2 separate regions of the Homo sapiens genome follow, and region 2 is linked to region 1. The links are contacts of gene promoters, found by promoter capture Hi-C in blood cells and fetal thymus (Javierre and others, 2016). All regions are on one chromosome and are shown on one strand. The core of a region is centred on a gene start or on the middle of the fragment in contact, and the rest is flanking DNA. Distances in the headings are between cores, read along the strand shown.

Region 1 (3,425 bases), core at 451-2,950:
CGATAAGCCACATTTGCTAATATAATATTTACAGTTTTACGCTACCAAAGTTCAAAACAGTTCTCTACTTTAATAACATCTTCAGTAAGCTGCAACTTATTTCCAACCAACCTAATGAGTGTGCAATGTATTTTTACCAACTGAAAGGATCAAAATTGCAAGTATTCCTGAAAAGAAGGGCTTTCAAAAGCCTGCAAGAGTTAAGAACTCTTGTGCTTTCTCTAAAAAGTAATCTGAGTTTAAAATTCAAGTGCACTGCTGTTTTTTACATCCAAATAAGAATCAGTAAAATATCTCTGCCAGTTTCAATTCACTGAAGTAATGTCACTTTAAAGTGATGAAATTATAGTCAGAGCCTCCACCTAGCAAAACACACTAATGCTTGTTTAAAACTGGTCCTACTTTACTCACTGTATTAAGGAACAATTCTACAAAATACTCTTTTTGATCCCGTGACTATGTGGCTGGAAGGTGGACACTTAGAATCACAAAGCAGAAATGACTTTAGGTCGTCAGACCAACCCCACCGCTTTAAAGATGAGGACCAAGGTCCAAAGAGGATAAATAATTTGTTCAAGATCCCAGTAGCAAAACCAGATCTAGATTTCAAGTCTCCATCAGTCCCGCTGTAATCCTTCCATTTCCACAGTCCTGAGGGAGCCTTTAATATTCCAACATCAGGAACAGGGTTTTAGCAGTAGAGGAAATTTGCTGAAGGGAAAGAAGCACGGACTGAAGGTTATTTTGATGGATGAAGTGGAAAAATAATAGAAATAAGGTGACAAATGAGCGTGGGATTGGAAAAAGAGAGGAGGCAGAAACGTCAAAAGGTATAAATACGAAGACTATCTACTGAAAATGGCTGTGTATCTACCCTTAATTCACATAATCTAAAATACAATAAATATTCAAAAATGGAAAGTGACTTCGTATACTAAAGGGAATTTTTATAAAAACAAAGAGAAACTACTAGAGATAACTACATGTATTTACTAGAATAGAAAACGTCTAGTACCTGCTGCCCTGGGAACTACTGTGAATGTGCGTGTTGGGCCCGGATCCTTTATTGACTGAGCCAGCGCCTGCGATTGCTCTAAATTTAAGGATCGTACAATTAGAGAAACACGTTATCCCGGGACAAGAAAACCTTATTTTGTGTGGTTAACACGGCGGGTCTACACCAGGCCAATAAGCTGCTCATGAAAACCTCACGGCTGGTCAGCCAGAAAACACAAAGCTTAGGGACGAAACGTCAACAGAGTAGACATCAGTTCAGGTCAGCCGGCAACGAGGGACCGAAGGATGACATCGCGCTCCAGTTCCGCCTCCCCGGCCCAGCCCCCAAGCGCTCCATCTCCGTGCCAGGGCTCCGCAGCCGCGATGGCGGGCTCGGTGTCGCCGGAGCGGAGGGGCGGCCTCGGGCCGGGCGGCCAGGGCGCCAGACTCCAGATGCAGCGACAAGCGGCCCGGAGCCCGGCACTCGGCCTCCTCCCCGCGTCAGCGTCCGCCCGTGGGCCCGGCCTCCTCGCAGCTCCCGGGGCCCTGCTGCCACTCAGCCCCACCCGGCGCTGAACCCAGCCTTTGACTCACCACCGCCCGACAGAATGCAGAACTGCGAGAGGAAGAGCAGCACGCGACACAAGGCGCGGAGGCCCCTCAGCGGGAGCACCCCTCCCGCCATCTTGCCAGCGCCTGCGCACTTCCGGGCCGGGGGGCGGGGCGCGCCTGGGAGCCGGAGCGTGAACTGGACGCAGGCGCGCTGCGACTCCTGGCGGCCGGCGTTTGCGCTTTCGCTGTCCTCGCGCGGGTCGCGGGTTTTCTTCCGGTTGAGCCTTCTGGGAGGTCCCCGAGGAGGATGCGAGCCTGGGAGGTTGTTCCATTTCCACGCGCCCCTCACGCCCTTGGACGAGGCCCTCACCCCTGGTTCCACTGCAGGAGACCTGTTAAAGGTCATCCGTGGACCGAAATGCGCGCCCGAAGCAACCAAGAGCAGAGGCGGGCGAACGCGGGAGGCTGGCCGCCCCAGTGTGTGGTCGGATGTTGTGTGCTGGATCTCGTGCGAAGGTTCCGAGGACACTATCGCGTGGCGTTTCATCCTAAAGACACTTATTTACAGTCGGGGAAGCGGCCCCGGGACGACGAGGGCCCGAGGGACCCCTCCCCTGGGGCCGGCGCTCAGGCCTGCCGCGGCTTTCACTTCTGGCCGGCCTCTTGAAGATACGCAGCACTTCCAGAAAGTTCCTCTCAGGCCTGGAGAAGCAGGATGGCCCGAGGCGCTGGGAAGTGAGGGGAGGGTCCAGAGCCCAGCCCTGCCTGGGGAAGGTCGCGGCCGTCTGGGGAGCCGCGCTCAGGCCCCAGCTTGCGGAGACCCTTGCCGGTTTCTGTCACAGCACACCTGGGAGAAAGCGCTGGTGACAGGTGCTCTCCTCCCACCCACGTGCTTCGGGATCGTTCATTCCGCGGTCTTCTGACTACCACCCCCTCACGTGCATGTTTGCTGAATGACTTTTTAAAAAATACATGGAAAAGTGCCGGCACATAAGCCCTGAATGTTAGCTTTAAAAATCGTATCACGGCCGGGGGCGGTGAATCACGTCTGTAATCCCAGCACTTTGGGAGGCCCAGGCGGGCGGATCACGAGGTTAGGAAATCGAAACCATCCTGGCTAACAACACGGTGAAACCCTGTCTCTACTAAAAATACAAAAAAATTAGCCAGGCGTGGAGGCACGCGCCTGTGGTCCCAGCTACTGGGGAAGCTGAGGCAGGAGAATCGCCTAAACCCGGGAAGCGGAGGTTGTAGTGAGCCGAGATCGCGCCACTGCACTCCAGCCTGGGTGACAGAGCGAGACTCCGTCTCAAAAAATAAATAATAAAAATCATATCACACAATCTGCACCTTATACTACTACACAAGCCTGATATATATTGTTTTGTTTGCCAACTGTTTCACTGTTCACATCCCTCAGGAAGTTAACTAAATGATCAGTATATTGAAAAGAGATTATTTCTTACATTTCTTTTGAATTTCACAGCATATCGCAAAATAAACAATACTTCTTGTTTGGTAGCTGAATTCTCTATTGACATAATGCCATTTTAATTCAGTTCTGAGCACGTAGAGCATTCCTCTCTTTAAAATCTGAAATCCATTTCAGTACATAAATCCATGGAATGTCATCCCATCAAAAAAGTAACAACTCTAGGTGAGCGGCTTAGTGGTGGTAGAAGCCCACAGCTGAAACGCTGGAAACACTGATGCAATTCATTTGGGAATTTATTTTTTTCTAAAGCGGAACAAAACCTAATTATGAATAAGAAACATTTAAATGGCAACTCTTAACCTATAGTGCAAACACCAGATTCCACAAAACTGAATTCCTTTGTCAGTAATCCAATATTTAGCAGTAGCTGCTGCTTTTGTGG
Region 2 (3,119 bases), core at 36-2,535, 1.3 Mb before region 1:
GTTGAAACCACCCAGCCCGAAAGCAGCATGGGCTGTGCCCAGAGCCGCCGTGCCAGAAGCCCACGCTTAGAAATAGAGGGCCGAAGACCAAAGAGGACTGCGGGTTCTTGGGCCAAACGTGACCCTCTCAAATCCCCCAACTCGGGGATTTCGTTAGCTGGGGACTGGTGTGCCCGGGTTCCAAGACCCCTGCGTAGACTCTGTCTATAGGTGGAAGAAGGCCTTTGCCCCGAGGCATCCAGAGGTAACGGTGAGAGGAACAAGGGCACGTGGGGGATCCCACCACAGCCTCCCCTGAGACCCTCTTCACGCTGGTTGCAGGAGTAGCCAACCCCGCTCCCTGGCAGCCCGTGAGATGCCACATCCCCTCCAGCAGGGGGCGGCCGGCATCGGTCCCGTCTTCCTAAACCGGCGTTGGTGGGAAATGCCGGCACCAGCTCCCTCCCCGCTCCAGAGCCCTGTTTTCCCCATTTGTATTTCACTACTTTCCTGTTGAGCTTGGATTCCAGCCTCAAATTCCGCGATTTGGCCGGCATCCTAATCCCCGAGTGACTCTTGCCAACCACTCTCTGTGGGGCCTGTGTGCTTCCTCCTGGGTTCTGGGGCGCTGGCGGCGTCCGCTTCACCGGGAACGGGAGCCCCAGCCTCCCGAGGCCTTCCTGCCTGGCTCTGGGAATGGCCACTGTCCAGAAAGCCCCGCGGCCGTCCATGCTCGCTCGCTCAGTCAGGCCCTTGTGGGGATATTGCAGAACGAGTCCGAGTTACTATCCCTTTAAATACAGGCGTTTCGGCCTAGCTGCCGCCGGTCCAATCCGCAGCGCTTCCGTGCCCCACTTTCCCGCGTCAGCCTGGCTCCGGCCTCCACCAGGGGGTGCTAGTGAGATCCCAGCCAGCCTCAGAGCTGAGCGTCCAGGGCCTTCAAATGTCCCCATCCTTGAAAAGGCAACTCCAGTGGCATCTTCTGCGGGGAGACCAGAAGCAGCATCTGACGAGGAGACAGCACTGGCGGTCCCGACACAACTGAATCGGCAGGATGAGGGCCCTTAGTGTTAGGCACCGGCGGAGCTGCATCCCACCCCGTCTCGTCCCCTGAGAACAGCTGTGAGAAGCCGCCTATTTTTCATCGTTCTGCAACACACCTTTCCCTTCCTTGGGATATTTCTCCTCTTTCAGCATTGCCGCATCAGGGTTCCAAAGCCCCGTTTCTCTCCTAGTTCTTTCTTTGCTCAAGAAAAGCAGCTTGTCTGATAAACTAAGCTATGTATGATTCGCTGCCAGTACAGACTGAAAAACAAAATAAACTCCCAATTCACAGTCCTCCGTTGCGTAACAGTGAGCAGACGTTCTGAGAAATGCATCGTCAGGCAATTGCATCATTGTGCAAACAATATAGAGTGTACTTACCCAAACCTAAACAGCACAGCCTACTACACACCCAGGCTGTAGGCTGTGCTTCTAGACTACAAACCTGTACAGTGTGGTACTGAACACTGTAGGCAACTGTAACACAATGGTAAGTATTTGTGTATCTAAACATAGAAAAGATACAGTAAAAATATGGTATGAAAGATTGAAACTGGTGCACCTGCCTAGGGCACCTACCGTAAGCTTGGAGCTTACGGGACTGAAAGTTGCTCTGGGTGAGTCAGTAAGTGAGTGGTGAGTAAATACGAAGGCCTAGGACATTACTGTACACTACTGTAGACTTTAAAACCCTGTACACTAGGCCCACACTCAATTTATTTTTAAAAATTTTCTTTCCTTCAATAATATATTCACTTTAGCTTACTGTAACTTTTCTACCTTAAGAATTTTTAAATTTTTTGACTCTTTTAATAACAGCTTGAATACACAAACACATTGTACAGCTATACAAAAATATTTTCATTCTTCATATCCTTATTCTATAAGCTTTTTTCCTACTTTTGAAGTTGTTTATTTTTTACATTTTAAACTTTTTGTCAAATATTAAGACACAAACACACATTAGCCTAGGCCTATACAGGGTCAGGATCATCAATACCACTGTCTTCTGCTTTCACATCTTGTCCCACTGGAAGGTCTTCAATGGTAATAACACACATTCTTAGTAAATGCAAATAGTCATGGCTCAGACTGATATAGTAATGATAGACTATTCAATATGTGGTATTGGACAGCTGTTTATATATTTGTACGAACCTAAGTTAGATTCTGTGGTGGTTCAAAAATATATCCTCTAATTATGACCTGCTTCCCTTCAACAGGTGTACCTAATTCCTCTGCCTAGAAAGTGTGCTGGAATTACTGCCTGGCTTCTGATGAATAGGGCGTATTGAGAGTGATGCTTTGTGAGTTCTGAGGCTAGGTCATAGAAAGGATTGAACTTATTCCTGAATGTTGCTCTTGGATCACTTGCTTTTTTGGGAACCACCAGCCATGTCATGAGGACACTCAAGCAACCCTGCAGAGAAGCACATGTGTGGAGAGGCACTTCTTGGAAAGGAGGCCAACTTGCCAGAACCAACTAATTTGTCATGTGAGTGAGTCATTTTGGAAGCAGATCCTCTACCCTCAGTCAGGCCTTCCGATGATTTCAGCCCCCAGCCTTTGAGTCTGCCCCAAACACCATGAGTAGAGACAAGCCCTTCCCACTGTGTCCACCCTGGCTGAATTCCAGACCGTTAAAAAAACAAGAGAAAATAAATTATTATTAGTGTTTTGAGTCACTAAGTTTTGGACTAATTTGTTATGCAGCAATAGCTAACAACTACAGAGTCATAACACAAACTAAAATTAATTCTAAGGCATGTTAAAGATTTATATGAAAGCATTCATCTAATGGAGGTGTGCAAGAAGTGGCTATAAAAAATTTAGGGCACCCAAAAGCAACCTGTAGGCTGAGCAGGGTAAGTACATCTGCAAGAGCAGCCAGATGGCTAGTTGGTCCCTGTGTGCAGCCTCTCTACCCACCCATGGTATAGGTCCAGGAATGGAACTGTTTAGCTTCCCTAGGAAACAATGAATGTGGTGCTTGCATTGTGTTGCTGACACCATCAGAGAGGAAATGGAAGTCCCAGTGTCCAGAAGCTAAACAGAAACACACACACACAAAAGACAGAAGGAAAGAAAAAAAGGGC

The links. Contacts are between HindIII fragments. The CHiCAGO score rates a contact against its expected background, and 5 or more counts as called.
Region 2: the fragment with the promoter of SPATA41 here is called in contact with the fragment with the promoter of TM2D3 in region 1 in 1 of 17 cell types (neutrophils); the score reaches 6.0 in neutrophils.

What each region holds. Positions count from the first base shown.
Region 1 is chr15:101,650,681-101,654,105 of GRCh38, forward strand. It overlaps TM2D3 (TM2 domain containing 3), which reads right to left and starts at 1,701. Exons shown (of 6, transcript NM_078474.3): 1 at 1,591-1,701; 2 at 1,016-1,093. The coding sequence starts at 1,681. It overlaps TARS3 (threonyl-tRNA synthetase 3), which reads right to left. Exons shown (of 19, transcript NM_152334.3): 19 at 2,916-3,425. RefSeq lists silencers at 1,289-1,848, 2,089-2,278 and enhancers at 1,939-1,998, 2,105-2,995. The HindIII fragment of the contact is 10,431 bases long and covers 1,236-3,425 here.
Region 2 is chr15:100,349,433-100,352,551 of GRCh38, forward strand. It overlaps SPATA41 (spermatogenesis associated 41), which reads right to left and starts at 1,286. Exons shown (of 2, transcript NR_028139.1): 1 at 1-1,286. LOC105371021 (a long non-coding RNA gene) reads left to right here and starts at 174. Exons shown (of 3, transcript XR_007064777.1): 1 at 174-250; 2 at 943-1,513; 3 at 2,247-2,712. RefSeq lists an enhancer at 454-713. The HindIII fragment of the contact is 2,620 bases long and covers 1-1,606 here.